2 separate regions of the Homo sapiens genome follow, and region 1 is linked to region 2. The links are contacts of gene promoters, found by promoter capture Hi-C in human tissues and cell types (Jung and others, 2019). All regions are on one chromosome and are shown on one strand. Each heading gives the region's core, a stretch centred on a gene start or on the middle of the fragment in contact. The rest is flanking DNA. Distances are from core to core; before and after follow the strand shown. Region 1 overlaps HMGXB3 (HMG-box containing 3). Region 2 holds the start of RPS14 (ribosomal protein S14).

Region 1 (7,383 bases), core at 1,003-3,502, 420 kb before region 2:
TTAAGGCTCTTGAAGTTAGGCTGAATCTGGTTTGCAGTTGCCACTCTCTTCTCTGATTTACTGGCAGCTGCTCATTCTGGTTCTGGGTTCTGCCCAGGTTTAACTTAATTTTTGTAGAATTGAACACTGGTCTTACTTTTTTAGGATTTGGGCCTGGCTACATCAAGAGGCCGGGGAAAGTGCAAGAATCCCTCTTGTAGCTATGTCTACACCAACAGGCACAAACCTCGAATTTGTCCCAGCTGTGGTGTTAACCTTGCCAAAGACCGGACTGAGAAAACCACCAAGGCTATCGTGAGTTCCTTCCCCCAAACACATCCCCTGGCCTGTTCTGGGCTCTGTTAGTGAACCTGTCTTAGTAGAAATAAGAAGATTTTTAAAGTACATGGTGGTAGTTAGAGCATCCAAACTGAACCAGTTGGTGGGTTCTGAACCTGAGCAAGTGCCGCCTTTTCTCTGAGCCTCCTTGTCCCCATTGCCAGGGTGAAGGGGTTGACTAGGTATCTTGATCTCTGAGAACCAAGAGTTCACTCACTGCAGAGAATGATGTAGCACAGGCCTTAAGTAGGAGTGAAAGGAGAGGGACGAAAGGGTTGCATCCTCTTACCGCTGAGGCCTGATACAAGACCTGTAAGTTGATTTACTGTTTCGGTAAATAGAGAATGCCAACCTGAGACTTTGCAGATTAGACCACCGCTGCTTTCTCAGGCTCCTTGGAAAGCTTTTAGTTAATCAAAGCTTTATTTCTAGCAGTCTAGGCAGCCCTCCTCTCTGAAGTTGGGCCAAACTACTTGGGTAGTAAAATACATTCCACTTGGCTCCTTAGGGCTGCTATTATTATTATTACTATTACCAGGAAAAATGGGCATTTTCAGAGGTCCCCAGAATTTCCATATGAGTTTTTTAAAGTGAACAGAAAATGGTGGCACTTGAGGCAGCAAATGGAAGGACTAAAATAAGGATGAGAAGAGAAATGTCACTGGTCTGCCTTGGGGAAAGAGGGGATGGCACACAGAACAGGTCAGGACCTGAGATGGAGCCTGGTCACTCCAGATCAAGGCTGGACCTTGAAAGGCAGGCAGGTTTTGAATGGAAGGGGAAGGCATGCCATACTTAAGTCTCTCCCACTAGACTGTAGTCTGGTGAGTGAACATGAAGTGTGAGTATGGATAAGGATAAGTGTGAGTGATAAGGATAAGTGTGAGTGAACATGAAGAGTGTTCCATTTGGCTGGAGGAGATGGCGTGGGGGCATGGGGTGGGAGAAGGGGTGTTACGGAAAATAAGACGTGAAAAGCATCTTGGAACCATGTCATGGAAGGTCTTGTCAGTTTGTTCTTTAGTCAGTGGGGTCCTACTGAATGTCCTTGAGCCGGGGAGAGGCCTAGAGGAAAGTTATTTCAAGAGGGGAATTTATGGGATGAGAGTTTGGGAGTAGACAGGACTACAGAGGTGGGGAGAACTGCTTCAAGCTTAGAGGTTTATTTGTATATGGAGAGAGGCCTTTTTGATGATGAATCTCACCCTGGTCTCCAGAGTCTGTTTCCGTGCTTGAGGTGATGTTCTGAGGTTATTGTCCTTGTGAGAAAGGAAAGTGGAACCAAAGTATGTGGGCACTAATGGCTTGGTGGGAAAAACACTGGGGCTGGGAGTGACCCTGAGTTGGAAGCTTCCCTCTCCCGAGCTTTAGTTTCTCCATTGGTAAAGTAAGGTGGGCAAGGTAGATTAGATCTGGGCATTTTACTCTTAAGAGACAGGAGCCTTAGAGAAGACTGATAATTGAGTTTTAAGGAGTTTATAAATCCCTGAAATTGCATGCAAAATGGGTCCGTAGCTTTCATCAGATTCTCTTGCTCCACTGGATGCCTGCTGCTGGAAGTAAGCTTTCTTCCCGGATTTTCAGTGGGTTTCAAAGTGCTCTTCTTGCCATAGCATTGATCACACCCCATATTGACTGCTTTTCTTAACTCCCTATGAGACCACAATCTCTTCTAGGGCAGGTATGTCTGTTTTTCCTGCACCTTCTAACCCTGGAGCTTACATATACAAAGTGTGTCTATCTGTAATTAGGAGATAGAATTGAGTTCTGTGTAGGTAGAAGCTCTGAGCATTCCTTTCTCCTTCCAGTTCATTTTAGCTATTTGCGCGGTTTGCAGTGGAAGTGGGTGTTACTCTCTAGATCTAGGATGATGAAGGAACTTAACTTCTCAGGTGACATAGGAAATTATCTAGGGACCTCTTGCCAATTTCAAATCCCACTCTTAAACTTATATCCATCTGTATTTGGTTAACTGAGAACTGCCCACCCCCAGGACCCTCATCTGCAGACCTTCCATCACTTTCCAATCTCCTAAAGTTTGGAGAAATACAGTGTAATTACTGCTTTCCAGAAAATAAAGCACTGGTCAGAACCACAGGGATCTTCTTGTGTGTTGTCATTTGGAGCCCCCTGGTAGCCAGATGTTTTCACATCTCTGAGATGGAATGGTCTTTAGTCCTTTCTATCCTTCATCTCTGGCGAGAGTCACGGGACAGTATTCCTGCCAAGTGGTCTTCCAGCTGTGGTTTCATAGTCATGACTGAGAACACACAGCCTCTCGGGGCAGCTCATTCTAGTGTTAGTCAGCTCTTCTGTAGCCACTGATTAATTAATTCTCTCAGCCAGCCTATATTGAATGCCTGCTATGGGCCAGGCTTTCAGAGATGAATAGGACGTGGCCCTTTCCCTTGAAGAGCTTACAGTCTAGTGGGAGAGAAAGATAACCAAGCTATTACAAATGAAAGTTGTCATAGGTATGCGGAGTTAATAAAAAGCTCCTTATTAAGTGTCCTAGTCTGTTTTGTGTTGCTATAAAAGAATACCTGAGGCTAGGCAATTTATAAAGCAAAGAGGTTTATGTGGCTCATAATTTGGCAGTCTGTACAAGAACCATAGTACCAACATCTTTTTTGGTGAGGGCCTCAGACTGCCTCCACTCATGGTGGAAGGCAAGGGGAGCCAGCATGCATAGAGATCACATACAGAAAAAGGAAGCGAAACTCATTCACCACCTCCCTTGCTCCTGCCCCACGATAATCTACTCATGAGGGATCTGCCCCCCTGACCCAAGTACCTCCCTTTAGGACCTGCCTCCAACGTTGGGGATCACATTTCAACATGAGATTTGGAGACGGTAAACATCCAAACTATAGCATTAAGCATTTAACTTCTACAGAGCCATGTATAATATGTCCATCACATATGAATCAGTATCTTATGTGTGTCTCAGGCATCATGCTGGTTGGGAATCAGTAAATAAGCAGAATCCTACCCTTACTGAAGCGGGGAGGGTGGTGGTTTAGCAGCTGTCAGATGATGAATTCTGCAGTCAAGGGGTGCACTCAGAGAACACAAAGCGGGGAGTGATTTATGCTGCCTTGGCAAAAAGGATCAGGGAGAAGCTCCATTGAAGAGAGACCTGCTTGAGAAAGACCTATTTTTAATGAGTATTTCAGAACATTGTTCCTGGAAGCCTCTGACTGGTATACAAAATTACCTTGTACCCAGAAGCCACCGAGAATTAAAGACAGATAACTTTAAGCAGTGCAGATACTTGTTTATGTATCAAAACTATCATTCATAGAGCCTTCATTGCACCATAGGCATTGTGCTAAGTGCTTTACTTATAATATCTTACTTAATCTGTATAATGGCTCTAAGAGATTACTATTTTTATGCCCCATTTCACAGATGAGGAAATTGAGACTCAGAAAGATTAAGTAAATTGCCTTGGGTCCCACATACACAGCTGTTAAGTGGCATATCCAGAACTGAAACCTGGGTCTGTTATCCTCTAAACCCCATACCTGATGAATGAGAGCTAAGTGTTGAATCCATTACCAAGAGTTGTATATAATCCTCTCATTTACTGATACAGGTTGACTATCCTGTATCTGAAGTGCTTGATACCAGAAGTGTTTTGGATTATTTCATAATTTGCAATATTTGCAGAATACATACTGCTTGAGCATCCCTAATCCAGTGATTCAAAATCTGAGATGTCTAATGAGCATATCCCTTGAATGTTGTCTCAGTGGTCAAAAAATTTCAGATTTCAGAGCATTTTGGATTGGGGTGCTCAACCTGTAGAGAAACTGAGCCCCACAGAGAAAAATAACCAGCCTTTAGTCACACAGTGAGTTATTAGCTGAGCTGGTTAGGAACCTAGGTTTGCCACCTATCAGTCATGGGCCCCATCTGTCTGCTGCTCCCAGACTTTTATTATTTTAGCCTGAAGCTGGCTCTTTCTGCTCTGAGTGCTTGGTGATCAATCCACTCTCTTCCCAGGAGGTGAGCTCACCACTCCCAGATGTACTGAATGCCACAGAGCCCCTGAGCACAGCCCAGAGGGAGATCCAGCGCCAGTCCACACTGCAGCTGCTGCGCAAAGTCCTGCAGATTCCTGAGAATGAGTCAGAGCTGGCTGAGGTCTTCGCCTTGATTCATGAACTCAACAGCTCTCGACTTATCTTGTCCAACGTGAGTGAGGAGACAGTCACCATCGAGCAAACCTCTTGGTCGAATTATTATGAGTCTCCGTCCACGCAGTGCCTTCTCTGTAGCAGCCCATTATTCAAAGGGGGACAAAAGTAAGCACCCCTTAACTCTGCCCCTAGCTACCCCATCCCATTTGGCTCATACTGCTCTTTTCTTCAGAAAACATTAAAACTATAACTGTGAAGATGTTATTCTCTGCCGTTTTTAGGCTTCCTTTAACTTTCTGATTGCTGAAAGTAAAGTAATAATTGGTAATTATCATTTCTGTTGAAATGCCTGAAAGTTATCACCAGATTAGGATTTAGTTTACATCTGGACTGCCCCACACAATGTTTAGGTTTGGGAGTTCATTGGGATTGGTTAAATTATGTAATAAATTCAGAGTTACATTAATTGTAGGGATGATTCCACAGATTCCAACAAAGTGGAAATACCTACCTAGAAAATCCTAAGCTCCAGCAAATGAGAATTTGCCATTGATCACTGAGCCCTGGAACTCCATAAAGAAGTCTCTTTCCCTTCTTTTTTTTTGTTGGTGATGTTTCTGGTACTAGCTCCCTGGCTGGGCCCCAGGAGTGCTGGCTGCTGACAGCCAGCCGTCTGCAGACAGTGACTGCCCAGGTGAAGATGTGTCTGAACCCCCATTGTCTGGCCCTGCACAGCTTCATAGACATCTACACAGGTGGGTGCCAACCTTCTCTTCCCTCAGAGCATCCCAAAGCAGGCTTGGGAACTGCCTCTATGGATGAGACCTCTGGCCCTTTGAGGACTGGGCCTTCTCAGATGGGGCTTCTGAGGAAGGGGGAGTCTTCTTCCTAAATGTCTTAGTCCCACAAGATGACTTTTACCTCTCAAGTGTTGAAGCTCTCAACTGGGATCTTTAAAATAACAGATCTTCATTGTGGAAGGGCTGGAAAATGCAGACAAATAAAAAGAGGAAACAAAAAATCAAGAGCATTGCTACTGCCATGAGATAAACACTTATTTAACAGTGTGATCAATCTTCCAGAAATGTTTATTCATCTGTGCAGAATATAAGAAATTATAGGATGTATAGGTTTATAGTCTTTCTTTGAACAAAAGTACGGTTGTGCTAGATGTTGTTTTGGAATGTGCTTTTTAAACTTAGGGGTACATTGTGGGCATCTTCCTGTGCCAGCAAGTAGAGAAGTACATGACCATTTTTATAGGGATGTATGGTGCTCCAGTTTACACTTTTGTGATTCAGTCTTTGTGTACAGCCCTAATTTGTCTTTTGGACAAATACTCAGAAGTGGAATTGCTGCACATTTACCCTTTCCTCCCCTATTATTCATCAACATCAGGCATTTGTGGAACACTCACCGTGTACCAGCCATTTTAAGACTTTGGTTGAATCCTAAGTTTTGTTTGTAGAATTGAGTGCTGAAGATGAAAGTGTATTTTTGATGTATTCTCTTTGTCTTAGAACTTAATGGTGCTTTATTTTGAATTCATGTTTTTAATGTCTTATATTATTAGATTGAGTTTGTACTATTTTATGCTCTTGCCAACAGTTAACAAAAGTGCCTATTACCCTGTTGTCTATCCAGGCTAGTACTCAGGATTATATATTTATTTAGTCAACATGTATTTTAAAATTTACATGTAGTTAAGTGTGTTGCTCCAAGTTCCATAAGTTCTGACAGATGCACTAAGTGGTGTAACTACCTTCACAATCAATATATAGAACAGGTCTATCACCCAAAACATTCTCTTTTACTGTTCCTTTGTATTTAAACCCATCCCTCTCCCCCAACCTCTGGTAACTGTTTGATCTCATCTTTATCCATATAGTGTTCTCTTTCCCAGAATGTCATGTGAAAGCAATTATGGCACGTAGCCTTTTGAGTCTGGCTTCTTTCAGTAAGTTAATCCTTTGAGAGTCATCCATATTGTGTTTATCAGTGATTTATTCCTTTTTATTGTGGAGTAGTTTTCTGTGGTGTGGATGTACCACAGGTTGTTTAGCTGTTCCCCATGGGAGGATATTTGGTTTGCTACCGGTGTTTGGCAGTTACAAATAGAGCTGCTACAAATATTTGTGTACCAGCTTTTGTGTGAACCTAAGTTTTCATTTCTCTTGGGTAAATACCTAGGAGTCAGATTGCTGGGTCATGTGGTAAGTGTGTGTTTAATTTTATAAGAAAACTGCATTACCAAAGTGGCTGTACCATTTTGCATTCCTTCCCACAATGGGTAAAAGTTACAGTTTGCTCTACATGCCAGTACTTAGCATTATCTGTTTTTGTTTTTCAGCCATTCTAATAGGTGTGTCTCCGTATAAACTGTAGAGTCAGCTTGTCAATATCTACAAAGTCCTGCTTGAATTTTAATTGGATTGTGTTCAATCTGTACACATCAATTTGGGAAATTTTGACATGCCTAACAATGTTGAATCTTCCAGTCCATAGTCTTTCTCTCCATTTTAATAGGTTGTCAGTTTTTCTAGTTTCAGCATATAGGTCCTGCCCATATTTTGGTAGACTTACATATAAGTATTTTACTTTTTTTTTTCAGTGCTAAATGACATGGTTCAATTTCTAGCTATTCATTGCTAGTATAGAAGTATAATTAAGTTTGTCTGTTGACTTTGTTTTTGTAAATATTATAATTTTTTTAAGTTTATCAATTTTATAGGTAAAAACTTGTGTATAATCAGGTAATTTGTTGTATTTCTTTGTAGTAGGTAGAGTATATGTCCTTTTTATGATCCTTTATGGGTTTTTTTCTATAGTAAATTTCTTTTGTGTTTTCATTCTTCTTTTGGTCTTTTTTGTTGACAGTTTTCTCCCAGTTTATCGCTCTATTTATTCAGTTTTACCTCTA
Region 2 (7,249 bases), core at 2,099-4,598:
TGGAAGGACTCCGGACTTATCATTTAGACCCTAGTTTAAATTACACTTTATCACCAACTCCTTACTTGTGCTTCCTGGCATTTGTCACAAATGAAAACCACATACTCCCTGGTGCTCTGTTGTTTAAAGTCTGACTCTCCCACCAGCCTCGGTCCCACACAAGGAGGGTAGAGACCATGTCTGTTTCCCCATCACTCTCTTCTAGTACCTGAAACACAGCTCCTAGTATACAGTGGGTGCTCAACACTGAGCTGCTGGGGGGTGTACACAGGAGCCAATTATTAAGTATGTATATGCCTAAAATATCTTGTTCAAGGTCACAACAAAAAACCCAAACCTCAAATCCAGGTGCTCCAGCACCCAAGCCCAGCAGGTTTTCTACCACCCAGCCATCCCCTCTGCGACTCGTACCTATTTCCTCCTGTGGCCCGGAGTTTGATGTGTAGGGCGGTGATACCCAGCTCCTTGCACCTCTGGGCCACATCCTGGGCAGCCAACATAGCAGCATATGGTGAGGATTCATCTCGGTCTGCCTTTACCTTCATCCCACCAGTCACACGGCAGATGGTTTCCCTGGGGACAAAAGCACAGGGTCATTTCTTCCTCGTCCAACAAGGAGTGCTTACGATATCCTAATGAGTGAAGAGCAACACAGCTCAGTCATGGTGGAGGATGATGGTCATGGGCTCTGCCCTCATGGAGTTCAGTCCAGTGGGGTTGAATGGCCCAATATAGCTATACTCAGTATTAACATTTTATATATCTACTTTTGCATTTAATCCTTACCATTACTCCACAAGGTAGACATTACTGTCCTAATTTTACATATGAGGAAACCAAAACTCAGAATCTGAGTGATTTCACACAAGTCACAACTTGCTAAATGGCCGTCGAACCCGCACCCAGAGCCCACTTGCAGTCCACTGCTGCTCCTGCAAAGGGAACTAGGGAAAGAAGATAATTCCCAAGAAACCAAGGATTCAATGACCATCACGCTGTAAGGACGAAGAATGTGTCTCCTCTCTTGTAACCCCTGGGAAATCACAATATTTGTGGGCTAAATGGACAAGCACATTTTCTTACCTGGACAAAACAGCATTTCTTTAGAGAGAATCCCCTGAACTGCTAGCCCGTCCCAGCCATTGCCTTCCTCAGCCTTTTGCCAGCTGGATGCCTCTCCACCCAGGTACTCACTTGCCAGAAAGATCAGTGACATGGACAAAAGTGTCATTGAAGGATGCAAAGATATGGCAGACACCAAATACATTCTCTCCTTCAGCCACCTGAGGTCCGAGGCTGATGACCTGTTCTTCCTTCTTTTCCTTCCCCTTTCGAGGTGCCATTTCTGAGTGGAAGGAAAAGAAACTCAAGGTTAACAGACAAAACATTTCCAGAATCCCTTTCCCCTGGCTATTAAATGAAACCCTAGTCCTGCTTCATGTCCCTGTCTTCTTCCATCCAATACTCTACTGTATTCTCTCATTTCTGCCTCACTAAAACTTCTTTCTCCTTGCACTTGGGGGGGTATCAACTGTGGCCACATGGCAAAGTACCATGAGAAGTATCCTTTCCCCAGAAACTACCAACAGCTCAGCTCACAGCACCTACAAGATAGAAGCCTAGGGATCTAGCAGCAGATGCCTGAAGGCTGCACCCCAAAAGGCAAGAAGAAACCCAAGACCAACAGCTACCCATGTACTGGTACCATTCCTAACACCCTTCATGGGGCGAGGGAGCTGCTTGATTCCTGCATGAACTCCTCAGCTTAGAATTCAAGGGACCCTTACCAACACAGCCCTCAAGCCTCTCATCTCCTGTTTTCCTGTGCTCCACCTGATCCCTTCAAAATGTTCAAAAATGCAACTGATTTGACTCCCACAACTATTTAGAACTAAATCTTTGTCACCAACATCAAATATCAAAGGCACTAAAATATATCCAAAAGGCAGGCTAATGGAAAAGACCCATCTCAGAAATCTGATGGGTCCTGAGACTAAATAACTCTAACCTATTATGACCTTCATAATAATTGCAATCATACTGTCACAAGATCTAAGGGAGAGAGAAACTGACAGGAGGAAGGCGGGTGAGAATGAATGAGAAAGTGGAAGGCTAGGATAAGACTGCTTCCGGCCTAAAGCCCCAGGCCTTCTGAACCTCCTGGTGTTCAGAACAATTTAACATTTTCAGAAGACACTAACACTAATCGATATCCTGCAGATGGTGAAGATAGAGAGTGTCTCAGCCTATGGTCACAGTAAAGACAGTGGCAAAACCAAACATAGAAACAACGTGTCCTGACTCCCAGCCCAGCACTCTCTGCCTCCTGCCAAGATGCCTCTACACCACAAATAACTACCCTAGTCTGTCTCAGGTGTTCCTAGATCTCTCCTCTGCCTTCCCTATATAAACTTTAGTTAAGTGTGTGACCACAGTAAGTACTTCAAGTGTAAGTCTTGGGTGTACGAAGTTAAATGTTCCTATCTTCAAATCAGACCAATGAGCACGACCCAGTGCGTTAACTATTGTAAGGAACGCGCCACAGGAGAGAAGCCCAAAGTTCTGCCTCGAGAAGCATAGAAAGGCTCCAGCATATCTCAAATACGTAAGCATGAGTATGTTTCGGCATGATGGCCATTCAGTAAATGCCAATTTGCAGTTTCTCCGTTCCTAACATCCCCTAAAGTAACGAGCAGAGTGGTCATCAGGAGTATATAAACGCAGGGCAAGCGCACAGCAAACATTGGTGCTGGGCCCTGAGCGCCCAGAACTTGCAACGTGCCCGACTCAGCAACGGAAAGAATCGCCCAGATTTAGAAGCATCCAACATAGTGCGAGAGTTTTCCCTGCTTTCCTTCTTTGAATGATCACTACAAACCCATGGGATCGGTGCTATTGTTATTCCTATTTTGCAAACGAGGAAACAAACGAGATTAGGCGTGGGCCTGCGATCACCAAGAAAAAAGTTTGGCGAGGTAGAGGCGGGAGCCCACGTCTGTCCCGGGTTCCCTCAACTACGCTGTGCAGCTCAAACGCGGCCGTGGCCGTGGCCGTATTGCGGGGCCGAGGCCTTAAAAGGCTGGACCCGCACTCACCCTTACTTCACAAGCTCCTCCCTGAAAGCAAAACGGGCCTTCTGAGACCAGGAACGAACTCAATCCCGAGTTGGCCAGGATCCAGGTGGGCCAGCCGCGCGTCTCTTGCCCGGCACCTAGCTCGGTTCCCACGGAAAGACCCCCGTCTCTCGTCCCAAGCCCCACAGGGTCCCCTCGCCGCAGGATGCCCCCCGATTGTCGCGCCCGGGCCTCCTACCTGCACGTCGTCTCCAGACTCCACACCGGAAAGAGAGAGTGGGAGGGGGCGGAGCGACGGGGGTCACTTCCGTGTCCCGGAAGTATACCTCTGAGGTCACGGGGCGAGGTCGGGTTCCGGAAGACGCCGGCATTATTCCTCCCAAAGAGTTTAAGACTCGTCATAAGGAAAGACGGTTTATTACTTAAGGGAGAGCGAAAAGAGGTAGAGGGCTGGTTGTCGCTGCGAGCGGGTCGGCCTAAGCGACAGTACGAAGCGGCTACACCCGCGGGGTGAGGTGGGCCTGTATTCCATGATGGCGGTGGTCGTGGCTAGACAGACTTCCGCCATCCTGACTCCCGCCCTGGCAGCCTTGGAGCGGCAGCGCCCCTTGTGTGGAGCAGGGGAATAACAACAACAAAACGGCCTTAATTAAAGCTAGGGTGGCGCCGGCCTGTGGTCCCAGTTACTCAGGAGGCTGAGGATCGCTTCGTCCAAGTAGTTCGAGGCCAGCCTAGGCAACATAGTCGGGGAAAACACACCGTAATCACTTACTTTGGCATATTATATAATGGGCAAAATAAGAATAAATTATTCAATATGTATTTTCAGACCGGTCTGGGCTAAACAGTTTATATGCATTGCTTCATTTACTCCTCAAGACATTATCAAATAATTTTGATTTCCCTCTTACAGATAAAGGATGTTAACTGAGAGCACACCTTTGCAGAAGGGTTTGGAATTCTAGCTTCAAAGCCCTCGTGTTTAATAGCTACTTCCACATAGCCCTCTAATAACAATATACATGTATATATTTCGACCGAATCTTGTTCTGTAGCCAAGGCTGGAGTGCAGTGGCGCAATCTCGGCTGACCGCAACCTCTGCCTCCCAGGTTCAAGCTATTCTGCCTCAGCCTCCCAAGTAGCTGGGACTACAGGCGCGTGCCACCACGCCCGACAAATTTTTTGTGTGTGTGTATTAGTAGAGACGGGGTTTTACCGTGTTGACTAGGGTGGTCTGGATTTTCTGACCTCGTGATCCACCTGCCTCGGCCTCCCAAAGTGCTGGGATTACAGGCGTGAGCCACCGTGCCCAGCCTCTAATAACAATATTGAAGGACCTTGAAGGCTTGGGAGAATATGTCGGAGCTGTGGGGAAGGGCCAAGAAGTGTACCTCACAGAGCTAGGCAAGCGGTAGATACATTTTATCTATGTACTATATGTAATATTTATATGGAATATATATAGTATTTTTGTATTACATACTATATAAATATTATAAATATATTTTAAATATATAAATATATCCCGTGGCTCCAGCCTGGGTGACACAGCGAGACCCTGTCTCAAAAAAAAAAAAAATTTATTCTGCTAAACTGAAAAACTCAACATACCTTCTTTTTTTTTTTGAGACGGAGTCTGGCTCTTGTTGCCCAGGCTGGAGTGCAGTGACGCCATCTTGGCTCACTGCAAGCTCCGCCTCCTGGGTTCAAGTGATTCTCCTGCCTCATCTCCCGAGTAGCTGGGATTACAGGTGTGCGCCACCACACCCGGCTAATTTTTGTATTTTTAGTAGAGACGGGGTTTCACCATGTTGTCCAGGCTGGTCTCGAACTCCTGCCTCAGGTGATCCACCCGCCTCGGTCTCCCAAAGGGCTGGCATTATAGGCGTGAGCCAATGCACCCAGCCTCAACATACCTTCTCGTTGCATTGCATTTCTTCGATGATGAGTGACGTCAGACATCTCTTTACGGATTGTTTTAACCATTTGCATCTCTTCTGTGAAATGTCTGTATTTTTTGAAGGAGAGGGCTTTTTTGTTTTAATGAGCTTCCCAGTATGTTAGCAGAGACTGGAGTATTGTGGAGTGAGTTCCGCTTTGATTAAGAGTTGTATTAAACAGACCTCCAAACCTCATGTGGCTTCATGGAGGGAGCAAGCCTTGATCTTATGGCTGAAGGCAGCCCACACAATCACCTCAGGACAAATTTTTCCACAGGGAAGCCTATCTTTATCCCAGAAACCATCAAAGTCACTGCTTTCAAACTCCACTTTATTTAATCAACATATTTATTGTTTCTGCAGTTATTAGCTATGGTTCTTTGGGCAAAAATTGTAACCTCTCTGGGCTTCAGTTTTCTCATCTGTGAAATGGGATGATAATAGCATATTTTTATTTTTATTCATTTTTTTTTTTTTTTTTGAGACAGAGTCTCACTGTTGCCTTCCCCTGCCTCAGCCTCCCTAGTAGCTGGGACTACAGGCACACACCACCACACCCGGGTAGTTTTTTTTTTTTTTTTTTGTATTTTTAGTAGAGACGGGGTTTCACCATGTTGGCCCAGGCTGATTTCGAACTCCTGACCTCAGGTGATCCAGCCCCCGCGGTCTTCCAAAGTGCTGAGATTACAGATGTGAGCCACCGCGCCTGGCCGATAATAGTACATTTTTAAATGTATGTTGAAAACTTCAGGGCTCAGTGGCTCACGCCTATAATTCCAACACTGTGGGAGACTGAGGCAGGAGGATCACTTGAGCTCAGGAGTTGGAGACCAGTCTGGGCAACATGGTGAAACACCTTCTCTACAACAAATAGAAAAATTAACCAGGTATGGTGACCTGCACCTATAATCCCAGCTACTTGGGAGGATCACCTGATCCTGGGAGGTGAAGGCTGCAGTGAGCTGTGATCACACCACTGCACTCCAGCCTGGGCGATAGTGAGACCCAATATATATATTTTTAAAATGTGTAATGAAAACCTGTATCTTTTGTGTTTTGAGACAGAGTCTCACTCTGTCGCCCAGGCTGGAGTGCAGTCGCACGATCTCAGCTCACCACAACCTCCTCCTCCCGGGTTCGAGCAATTCTCCTGCCTCAGCCTCCCAAGTAGTTGGGATTACAGGCGCCCTTCACCACACCTGGCTAATTTTTTGTATTTTTAGTAGAGACGGGGTTTCACCATGTTGTCCAGGCTGATCTTGAACTCCTGACCTCAGGTGATCCACCAGCCTCGGCCTCCCAAAGTGCTAGGATTACAGGCATGAGCCACCGCACCCAGCCAAAAACCTGTACCTTTATTGGACGCTTACTCTTTGTCAGGCACTGAGATACAATCATGGCATTTGAACTGAGACTTGAAAGTAGAGTAGGAATTAGCTACGTGAAGGTGTGAAGAATGGTCTGGGCAGGGAGAATAGAATATGCAAAGGCCCTGAAGTGGGTAGGTGTTTGGAGAACTCAAGGAATTAAAAAATGGCCAGTAGTACTGGGGTGTTGTGAATAAGGGAAGAGGAATGGGGGCTGAGGCTGGAGGGGCAGCACAGCCACTTTCCGTGGGGCCTCACCTCACTGTTGCCATGTCTGCGTTCCCCACCCCACCGCACCCCTGCGCTGTCAACACTGCCAGCACAGGGGTGTACTTACCCTCCCCTCTCAGAGCTCACACACTCACTCAGGGAGCACTCACTGAGCACCTAGGATGTGTCTGACATTGTAAATACTTGGGATACATCAGTGACAAAAACAATGGTCCCTACCCTCTCAAAGTCTACATTCTGGAAGGAAGAGCAGACATAATGTCTATGTAAGCTTCCTATTTTGTTAGAAAGTGGTCAGTCCTGTGGAAAGAAGAAAAAGTTGGCCAGGTGTGGTGGCTCACACCTGTAATCCCAGCACCTTGCATGGCTCAGGTGGGCAGATCACCTGAGGTCAGGAGTTTGAGACCAACCTGGCCAACATGGTGAAACCCCGTCGCTACTAAACATACAAAAATTAGCTGGGGGTGGTGGCAGGTGCCTGTAATCCCAGCTACTTGGGAGGCTGAAGCACGAGAATAGCTTGAACCTGGGAGGCAGAGGTTGCAGTGAGCTGAGACCGCGCTGTTGCACTCCAGCCTGGGCGACAAGAGTGAAACTCCATCTCAAAGAAAAAAAAAGAAGAAGAAGAAGAAAGAA

The links. The method cuts DNA at HindIII sites, captures the fragments that hold promoters and counts their contacts. A contact is called where the count stands out against the background at its distance.
Region 1: a fragment that was not itself captured here is called in contact with the fragment with the promoter of RPS14 in region 2 in 1 of the 25 tissues and cell types used here (mesenchymal stem cells).

Annotation. Positions count from the first base shown.
Region 1 is chr5:150,032,310-150,039,692 of GRCh38, forward strand. It overlaps HMGXB3 (HMG-box containing 3), which reads left to right. Exons shown (of 20, transcript NM_014983.3): 11 at 145-294; 12 at 4,327-4,628; 13 at 5,091-5,218. Among named protein-coding and RNA genes, the nearest start is that of HMGXB3, 35 kb to the left of the region's middle. RefSeq lists enhancers at 2,908-2,957, 3,078-3,287. The HindIII fragment of the contact is 6,609 bases long and covers 1-5,557 here.
Region 2 is chr5:150,446,391-150,453,639 of GRCh38, forward strand. RPS14 (ribosomal protein S14) reads right to left here and starts at 3,349. Exons shown (of 5, transcript NM_005617.4): 1 at 3,313-3,349; 2 at 1,195-1,345; 3 at 412-573. The coding sequence starts at 1,343. RefSeq lists enhancers at 2,866-3,804, 3,418-3,737. The HindIII fragment of the contact is 12,843 bases long and covers 1-7,249 here.